3 separate regions of the Homo sapiens genome follow, and all the other regions are linked to region 3. The links are contacts of gene promoters, found by promoter capture Hi-C in human tissues and cell types (Jung and others, 2019). All regions are on one chromosome and are shown on one strand. Each heading gives the region's core, a stretch centred on a gene start or on the middle of the fragment in contact. The rest is flanking DNA. Distances are from core to core; before and after follow the strand shown.

What was found. The method cuts DNA at HindIII sites, captures the fragments that hold promoters and counts their contacts. A contact is called where the count stands out against the background at its distance.
Region 1: a contact is called between a fragment that was not itself captured here and the fragment with the promoter of IFNA16 in region 3, in 1 of the 25 tissues and cell types used here (spleen).
Region 2: a fragment that was not itself captured here is called in contact with the fragment with the promoter of IFNA16 in region 3 in 4 of the 25 tissues and cell types used here (aorta, lymphoblastoid cells, mesendoderm cells and 1 more).

Annotation. Positions count from the first base shown.
Region 1 is chr9:21,772,111-21,775,579 of GRCh38, forward strand. No RefSeq gene overlaps it. Among named protein-coding and RNA genes, the nearest start is that of MTAP, 29 kb to the right of the region's middle. The HindIII fragment of the contact is 4,969 bases long and covers 1-3,469 here.
Region 2 is chr9:21,789,003-21,792,486 of GRCh38, forward strand. No RefSeq gene overlaps it. Among named protein-coding and RNA genes, the nearest start is that of MTAP, 12 kb to the right of the region's middle. The HindIII fragment of the contact is 5,476 bases long and covers 1-3,484 here.
Region 3 is chr9:21,215,530-21,219,194 of GRCh38, forward strand. It overlaps IFNA16 (interferon alpha 16), which reads right to left and starts at 1,782. Exons shown (of 1, transcript NM_002173.3): 1 at 844-1,782. The coding sequence starts at 1,776. The coding sequence ends at 1,207. The HindIII fragment of the contact is 8,956 bases long and covers 1-3,665 here.

The sequences.
Region 1 (3,469 bases), core at 805-3,304, 560 kb after region 3:
GTTGGAAGAGCTATGAGTTCCCAGCAATAAAGCAAATTAGGCAGTTCCAAATTGAGATCGCATTAGATGGTTTTATTTGCTAGCACTTTCAATTCTTGCATTTTTAGCATAATTATAATACATCTGCACGGCCTTCAGTAGTTATTCTCCTCATTTCTCACCTTTGTATATATTCTGCTACTAGTGCTGAAGAATATATAAATTATGCTAGGTATAGAGTTTGAAAGGCCTAAATTTTAATCACAGATCTATAATGTACTTGCTAAGTAACCCTGAGCAAGTCCTTCAAGGTTTCTTGGCCTGTTTCCTCACCTTTAAATTGCGACAATATCTGTGCTTCAGAATTCTTGCAAATATTAGATATTATACATGCAATACTGCTGGCACGTAATAGGGGTCTGAAAACAATGGAAACTGATTTTCTTCTAAACCCTTAGTCTTTCCCCTTCTCCCTGTCCTTTCACCCAGCATCTCCCCCTAGAAATGTTTCTGTTTGTTTATTTAGAACAGTCAGTAGGCATCAATGGCATTTTGGGGCCATGACATTGGGGACTTTCTCATTGGTTGGCAAGTCCCTGACTTTGTCCTCATTCCTCTTCTTCAACTCAGTATTCTGTGCTATAGCATAAAGGAAATTGAAGTAAGAAATTTTGAGCATGTCAGTGTCTAATTGTACAATCAGTTTCCAACTAGGCTATAAAGAAAGAGATTTCACCCCCTGCCAGAGTGCTTTAGGTCAATAGGGTTGAGAAGCTTTAAATATTCCTCTCTAAGGAAAGATCCCTTGAGACTCTACATCTCACCTCAGACTGGATGTTACTCCACTTCAGTGTCTTCATATGGATTATAATTATAATTTTCTGATAAATTGTGTAATTATTGACTAGCATACAGTCTATTTCAAAAAGGTAGGAGTTATTTCTCTTTTTCACCACTGGAATCTTAGCAGTTGGCACAGCAGATGCTCTATAAATATCTGTCAAATAAATGAACAAAAGAATTATGGCTGAGCCTGGATTTTAGAGAAACTGAAAGCCTTCCTAATTAAATACAAACTCAGCCCATTACTTTCACTTCTCAACTTTAAATTTATGTTTATTATGCTCTTACACATCATCTTTAGGCTGTTCTTCCACATAATTGTCAGTCCTCAGCCTTAATATTTGAATTCTAATAAACTGCTCTTAGAGGCTTACTGTGTAACAGCTGAGTTTTCTACTTTATATGCATGCAGTATCTAGAGGTTAAAGAGGAGGTCATTATAATCTAACCAGAATATGTTTGAATTTATAAAATGAATGATAATATTACCATGAAGCTCTCATCACTCCACAGTTTGACTGTTAAACAATAGGACTTTAACTTTTTAATTCTCATAAATTGATATAATTGCACTTAGACTTATTTATCTTTATTGTAGTTTCTTTAGAAAAAAAGCAAATGTTTGGCAATTATTTAAAGGAATCACCATAAAACACTCTTCAGAATTTGAACTGAAGTAGTAGCTCAAGTGTTGCCAAATAATTCACTAAACTATGAAATCATGTGTGTGTGTAGAAATAATATATACAATCCATTCTAACCTGTTACTTGATATAAATATATACTGCATAACCATATATAATAATATAATACTTTATATATAGTTTTATATACAATGCACATATAATGCAAGAATATAAATTAGTTTTAAACAATGCATAAAATTTTAGCATGCTCTTTTTATGGAAAGTTTCTAAATAACATAATTTTTATTCTAATTAAATTAATTTGAAATTATTTATAAAACTATATGGAAGCAATAAAACCACCTACAATGGGATGTTCCTAGAGTCCTCATTGGTAGCATCCAGGAAAAAAGAAGCCCTTTTAAATTTTAGGTTTTTTTTTCTTTGTGAAACTATATATACAAAAAGAAAAAACTAATAAAACTAAAGTCATACTGCATAAATAATTGTGCTCTCTGATTTTTTTCACTCAAAATACACAGTATATAGTACGCATATCTTTCAAAAGTCTTTAATCGAATCATTTTACTGGCCATATAGCATCTCATTCTATGTATTTACCCAGTCCTCTTATATTGGACATTCAAGATAATTTAAGTTTTCTAATATTATAAATAAGACAGTAATGATAGTCATTTGCTAGGTATTCCACCATACCCAAAAGCAAGCTTCAGCCTAACTAGGTAATAATGCATGTTTTGGTCAGTTTCAAATCCGGTTGATAATCAAACCATAATAAATTGGTTGTCCTTTGGCCAGGTACCCATGCCTGATTGAACCAATCAGGGCCAACAAACCCTGGGTAGAAATGTTCACAGGATAGAAAATAGTGCTAATCAAAGTGTTGCATCTGGAGTGCCATTCAAAATTAGGCAAGATGGTTTTAGGTGGCACATGAACACATGAATAGTTTCATGTTTGTTTTCAATGAATAATGAGGTAACATCAGTAAGGTAATCTCTTTTCATGAATATTAACATCAGTTTTAGTGATAACATTTTATTAATTCATTGAACAAATATGTACGGAGGATCTCTCAGGTAAGCATTGGGGATGCTACTATAAGCAAGACATAAAATTTCTAACCTCAGGAGGCTTACATTCTAGCAAGAGAAATGAGTAATATGGAGGAAATATCAGAAAGTAAGAGAATATAAAATGTGCAGCCTTGGCCTCACTTTAGATAAGGGAGATCTCGGAATTGGAAGGTATCTCTTCTATGAAATAAGGGAATAAGCTGTATAAGGATCAAGTACAAAGACCCAAAAGATAGAGCAAGCTTGGTGCACTGCAGGAAGCAAATTCAGCCAGCTTGGAGTAAGGGAGGGCTGGTAAAGATGACATCAGAAAGGTGGGTCAGGGGCCAGATCACAAACAGCCTTGTGAGCATTAGTAAGGACTTACCATGTTCTCAGTGTAACAGCAAACTATGGGACGGTTTAAACCAGGTTAATTGACCAAATTTATATTTTGAAAACAATCTGCTGCTGTGTGAAGAATTGATTGAAAGCATGCAAGAACAGAAATAGGAAGACATGTTAGGAGATTAATACAACACTCAGATATAATAATAGTGTGGACCAAAATGATAGAAGTGGAGACAGTGAGAATTAACAAATTCAAGGCACTTTTTGAAGTAGAGGTGACAAGACTTGTTGATGATAGATATGCCAAATGTGAGCCAGGCACCATGGCTCTTGCCTATGATCCCAGCACTTACGAAGCCTGAGGCAGGAAGATCGCTTGAGCCCAGGAGTTCAAGATCAGCCCAGGCAACATAGCAAGACACCCCATCTCTACAAAAAATAGAAAAAAATAACCACGTGTGCTGGTGCATACCTGTAGTCTCAACTACTCGGGAGTCTGAGGTGGGAGGATTGCTTGAGCCCGAGAAGATAAAGCTGTGGTGGGCCGTTACCATGCCACTGCACTCCAGACTGGGTGATAGAGTAAGAGCTTTA
Region 2 (3,484 bases), core at 358-2,857, 570 kb after region 3:
CATTTTCCTTTGCACTACAAGTACTCTAACTACAGACATTGTTCCGGTTTTTATCTGATTATAAGTATCCAACTAAAGTAGTTAAATGTTTAGAAAAGGTAAATAACTGATAGTGCATAAGGGAACCTGAAGTACTCTGTTGACACTTAAATTATATAGCCAAGGACAATGGAGGAAATCATTTAGTGCTATTAATCAGTAATCTAACAGTATTGTGTCTGTGTGCAACTGTCTTTCTTTTGGCTAATATCTGTGAATTAATTGGTCATTGAAAAATCTGATAAAGGAATATTCTAAAAGTACACAGTGAAATCCAAATTATTTCTATCAATTACAGCTCACCTTTTCTGAGGCTTAAACTTGACATGTAAAAACATTTTAGTTATCTGTTTCAAAATGAACAATATACCTCTGGTTAAAATTCTACCTTTTAAAAATTAAGGTATTTGAGACCTACAGGGATTAATTCTCTACTTAATATTTACTTTACTTTAGTAGTTTTTCTACAGAAAGTTTGTGAAAGATTTCATCCCCTATATATGTTTCTTTATCCTCCAAAATCTGGTCCTACAACTGTACTCCTTGACCCATAAGGTCAAGTGGTGCCATCTGCTGGTCATAAGAAGTGGTGTCATCTGCTGGTCATTGGTATATAACTATGAGAAAAACCACGTGCACTGTTGTAGAAGCAACTTAAGTAAACTGCAGTAGAGTACACTTACCACTTTAGAATTAACCTTTAAGTTATAACTTCTCTCTTTCCCTTCCCCCTTTCTCTCTCGCACTTTCTCTTATGAAGCCAATATGACTCAAGTTTTAGACTATTTTAAAAGGCAGGTTTGAGAAAAAAAAAAAAGAAAGCAAACTTTTGATGCCCCCTGGTGTTCAGGTTCCTTAGCATTTCTGAACTTCCTCTTTTGCTAAAACTAAAACCATAATAATGTGTTCTTCATTCATTCATTCATTTAGTCATTCACTTATTCATTCATCTAATGAACATAACTATATCATGAACCTATGAATTACACTCTATTTGAGATAACTGGATACCAAATTGTGGCCAACATGACAAGGAAAGAAAAATGAAGAATCTCAAGACAAAATTCAATTGAAATCTGTTTTGAAGTGTCCTTTGAGTTTGTCAGTTCAGTTGTAGCAAATCTGTGATGGCTGCCCTTATAAGTAACCTGAGGAAGAGAGGAAAAGAGGGTAGAAGGTGAAGGGAAGAGAGGGGAGGAGGGAGAGGATGGGCTGGATCAGTGAACATAATATAATCCACTCATGACACACAGAACAGACAACTTGTTGCTTCCTCTTTAAGTGCATTATAAACTAACACTTTTTTTTTTTTTTTTGAGATGGAGTTTTGCTCTTGTTGCCCAGGCTGGAATGCAATGGCCCAATTTCAGCTCACTGCAACCTCCGCCTCCCGTGTTCAAGCGATTCTACTGCCTCAGCCCCCCAAGTAGCTGCGATTACGGGCATGCGCCACCATGCCCAGCTAATTTTTGTATTTTTTAGTAGAGACGGGGTTTCTCCATGTTGGTCAGGCTGGTCTCGAGCTCCCAACCTCAGGTGATCCACCTGCCTCGGCCTCCCAAAGTGCTGGGATTACAGGCGGAAGCCACCGTGCCCGGCCGACACTTTTAAATAAAGAGATAAATGAGCTTGATGGGAATATATTACTTTACGAGCAAGATTTGTGTCTAATGCTTTAACTTAATTGTGGCAATTATTGTCAGATGGTCTAGGAAAAAATTGTGTATCTGGTACATGACTTTTGGGGAGCTCTAGGAAGCCCTCAGCAACATCATATTTCCCTTTGCACACCTCTGCTCCAGAGATATTTTCACAGTTGGATAAGATGCTTCTTAGATGATCACCAATACTCCATGCCTACTCATCAGTCCAGCCACTTGAAACAATCACCAGTACAACAGGACCGCCATATCTCCATGATATGAAATGAAGAGCTCATCCACGTGCCAGGAAGGTGGTGCACCCCAGCTGAATGGGAACAGAAGTTCCTGTGCTCAGGACCCTTCTAGACTTCACTTTATGTATCTTTTTATCTGGATATTTATTCATATCCTTTCAAATACCCTTCATAATAAATCAGTAAACGTGTTTCCCTGAGTTCTGTGAGCCACTCCAGCAAATTAATCGAACCCAAAGGTGGGGGGAGGAGGTTCACGGGAACCCCAATTTGAAGCCAGTCAGTCCGAAGTTCCAGAAGCCTGGACTTGCAACCGGGGGGAAGGAGGGGATGGGCTTGTGGGAGTAAGCTCCTAACCTGTGGGATCTGATGATTTATCTGGGTAGATAGTTGGAATTAAATTAGAGGACACCCAGCTGGGTCCTCCTGCAGAATTGACTGCTTGCTTGCTGGAGGGGGAAAATAAACACATATTTTTGGATCACAGAAGTCTCCTGTGTTGATTGTTATGGTGTGAGAGCACAGGAAAAATGGTTTGAGAGTTTTTCCTAAACAACATGATATACACGTACCAAAATATCACTGTATCCCACAATACATACAATTATTTTGTGCCAACTAAAAATAAAAGGAAAAACAAGAATTTAAAAATCCTAGCATGGTACTGGCATAAAAGCAGACATATAGAACAGTGGAACCCAACAGAAATTTCAGAAATAAACTCCTATTTGTGGTCAATGTAGTTTTGACAAAGATTTCAAGAACACACAGTGGGTATAATGACAGTCTCTTCAATAAGCAGCGTTGGAAAAACTGGATATCCACCCACAGAAGAATGAAATTAGACCCTCATCTCACTCCATATACAAAAATAAACTCAAAATAGATTTCAGATTTAAATGTAAAGCCCAAAACTGTAAAATTTCTAAAAGAAAACGTAGAGGAAATGCCCTGTGATACTGGTCTGAACAGTGGTTTCTTGGATACAACATAAAAAGCATAGGAAATAAAAGAAAAAATAGACAAATGAGACTGTATCAAACAGAAAAATCTTCTGGACAGCAAAGGAAATAATAGAGTAAAGGAACAACCCAAGAATTCGGATAAAATATTTGCAAATCTGTCTTCTGATAAGGGCCTAATATCCAAAATATATAAGGAACTAAAACAATTCAGTAGCAAGAAAACAACCTGATTTAAAAAATGGGCAAAGGACCAAAGTAGACATTTCTCAAAAGAAGATAAATGGCCAACAGATACATGAAAAACTATTCAACATCATCAATCATCAGGGAAATGCAAATTAAAATCACAATGAGATATCAAGTCATTTCTATTAGAACGGCTATTATCAAAAAGATGAAAGAGAACAAGTGTTGGAGGGGGATGCGGAGAAAAGGGAACCCTTGTGCACAGTGGTAGGAAGGTAAATTAGTATAATCACTTCAGAAAACAGTACAAAGTTTCCTTAAACAAACAAAAATACAATTACCATATGATCCAGCAATTCCACTTCTGGACATACATCCAAAGAAAATGAAATGAGTA
Region 3 (3,665 bases), core at 532-3,031:
GTCGATTTCTTCATAAAATCTTTGCCCATCCTGTGTCCTACATTTTTTCTAGGGTTTTTATGGTTTTGGGTTTTACATTTAAGTCTTTAATCCATCTTGAGTTAATTTTTGTATAAGGTGTAAGGAAGTGGTCCAGTTTCAATTTTCTGCCTATGGCTATCCAGTTTTTCCAGCACCATTTATCATCATTCCTTCTAAATACATTTTATCATCATTCCCTCTCGTCCTTCTAATGATAAGGTATTCCACCTCTGTTTTCTTTGTGTGTCTTCTGTTCCCCCACTTTAATAGTGGAAGTTCCTCAGAATCCAGTTTAAGTCTTTTTTTCCCTCTCCGCTTGCTCCCCACATGACAGCCTTCATTTTAGGCCTTTCCATTGCCAGTTATGAACTTCCAGATATCGTATTCCTTGGAAACTGCAAACTCATATATCTGACTTGCAATGTACATTTTCAATTACATGTTGAAAGTCAGTTTATAGAGAGTATCTCTACTTTTACTTGCAGACATTTCTTAATCTATGTTCTGCTAAGAGGAATTCATTGTTTTTTTTTACTTCCTCACATTACAGCAGTTAGTATAACTGATATTAATTCAGCATTATTATTGTTTTTAGAAACATTTCCTGACAAAAATCAAAGATACAAGACAACAAGAACTGTATTTTTTATGTTCAAGTTTATATCCTGAAGGCAACATATAACGTGGTATAGAAAAATATATTTTTCTATAACTTGAATAAAATTATGATAGGTAACTTACTTAAATCATCTATTTTTAAGTCAGGTTATACAGTCAGGCTTGGTATTTAATCTTAAAAAATAAACAAACACAAGAAATTTTGTATAGTAAAAATTTAATGAAAAGGAAGTTAATATATTAACTAAATATGAAGAACATATATTGTTACATTAAGCAAAATGTAAAGGTACACATGATATTACATAAAACATGATTTAAACCTTAAAAATAGTTAAATAAATAAATATTTAAATAAATAGATGAATAGAGACATCAGCATGGTCATCTGTAAAGGACTAGTGCCTGCACAGGTAAACACGATGCTTCTTTACACTCCTGAAAACATTTGAAAATTTTGATTCAACTTGTGGTGGTTATAGAAGTGAGTCTTTGAAATGGAAGAACTCATGAAAGTGTGAGATGATGTATTAATCAATGAGGATCATTTCCATGTTGAATGAGTTTTCAATCCTTCCTTCTTAATCCTTTTTGCAAGTTTGTTGAAAAAGAGAAGGATCTCATGATTTCTGCTCTGACAACCTCCCAGGCACAAGGGCTGTATTTCTTCCCCATCAGATAAAGAGTGATTCTTTGAAAGTATTTCCTCACAGCCAGGATGGAGTCCTCATTCATCAGGGCAATCTCTTCCACCCCAACCTCCTGTGTCACACAGGCTTCTAGGTCATTCAGTTGCTGGAAAAGTTCAATGTAGAATTTGTCTAGGAGGGTCTCATCCCAAGCAGCAGATGAATCCTTTGTGCTGAAGAGATTGAAGGTCTGCTGGATCATCTCATGGAAGGCAGAGATGGCTTGAGCCTTCTGGAACTGGTTGCCATCAAACACCTCCTGGGGGAATCCGAAATCATATCTGTCCTTCAGGCAGGAGAAATGAGAGATTCTTCCCATTTGTGCCAGGAGTATCAAGGCCCTCCTATTACCCAGGCTGTGAGTCTGAGGCAGATCACAGCCCAGAGAACAGATGGATTTGTAGCTGAGCACCAGCACGGCCATCAGTAAAGAAAAGGACAGGGCCATTGGGATGTTGCAAATATTGCTAGGCTACTGGAGATGGGTAAACTTGAACCTTGGCCTCTAGGTTTTCTGAAGACTTTGCTCTGTGCATAGTTCTTAAATAGTGAACATACTAATTTCCATTTTCTAAATGCCCTGGTTTTACTTTCTATCTCTGTTTTTGCTTTCTTTATGCACTCTCTACATGTGTTTACATATGTTTTTCATTTTGTTCATCATTGCCTATTTTTCCCCTGCACTCAAAGACTTTTATGGTATTTTTTACTAATTGGAATCTTCATGAAATTTTAATAACACAGATTTGGCATATCTATTTATGTATACTACGTATACCTCTACTTCACAGATAAAAACTATAAAGTTTGCTCTTTTTATTCAATGTAAAGTTAAGAATGACAGAAAAGTTAAACTAAAATCTAAGTTTAAAAGCTGTTGACATATAACTTAATTTGATAAGTATATTTCTGGAATAACTTTTAGTGTAATTCATTAATGTAAATTATATTTTATCAAATTACATATGCAATATAAAAGCTATATAAATACACGTTAATATGAATGTAATTACATACTGAATCATTGAAAACTACTAAATATATGAATCAATAATTTTTTAAAATTTTTCTCATAGTGTATGAAGCTTTGAATTTTGCTTAATATGAGAAAATAATTTGTAAACTTTACTAGCTGCAGTATTCATCCAGATATTGCCAACACTTTTTTCTTTTCAGCACTTGACATAAATATTGATGTGTTGAATAACTGTACTAGAAATAAATCATATGATACAAGCTATTTGCATTGAATTCTCAAAGTCTACAAAACATCCTGAAGAACTGAGGATCAAACATAAGCAATAACCATAAGATAGTCAATGGCAGCCCAAAGGTGTGCAGGTTAAAGCCACATATTATGATAAGATTTTAAGATCAAGCAAAAATGGACAGAATGTCCTCCTATCACAGTCTTCTATTTGCCATAGGTTTGTAACACTGATCTTGCAAATATTTTGTGTATCTTCAGGAACTCAATATCAGTGCTTCTCATGTGATACAGCAGAAAATCCAATGAGAGAGATGTATATTAAGCAATGAAATTTTGTTGGACAGAGTTGTTAGAGAATCACCAACTATTGTAATGTGTTAGGTTAGTTTATACTTCGAGAACCCTTAGGAGAAGTATCACATAGACATATGTGACTTAGAATATATTATCATGTAAAGAATTAATTTTCAGAGTGGTCCTGAACTCTGACTCTACCTTTTCTTTTGCCTAAGAAGTTAGTTTGCCTTGGCCCTATAGATACTGAGTCTTTAAATGGAATGAGGTCTGCTTTAGCAAATCAGCTATTTAGTAAGTGGAGTTTTTACTAGTTTCTCATTTTTTCTTCTACTGGAAAGTGTTCAAGAATGAAGCTATTTTGCTTCCTCATGGCCATATTTGCTGGGATTGTAATAGACAATGACAAAAGTTTCCATTCAGCTTTTACTGAGAGTCAATAATGCCCATTTAGTTTACTGCTTAAACCACTGGGATTCTAGTTTTTTTAAGGTTCATGTAGATCTGGGGATACAAGTTGCAAGAGCAGCATAATATCATCCTTTGCTAGCACTATGTTAACTATTTATGGCTTCATCTCTAATCTGTCCTCTATTTTGTGATAATAGAAAATAAGTAGCCTGGTGTCAAATACAGAGTCACATATCTAATTTCAAACTCTCCAATTCACACAGTTTATAGGAATCAGACAATTTACTATTCCCAAAAGTAGGGAATAATAGCCTCTATCCCCCAAATAATCCTACAGCTTTCCTTCCCTGGATCAAATCCCCAGAATGTGTATGTGAACGGTAGATACTTGTGACATCATTTTTCCATCATTTATAAATTTC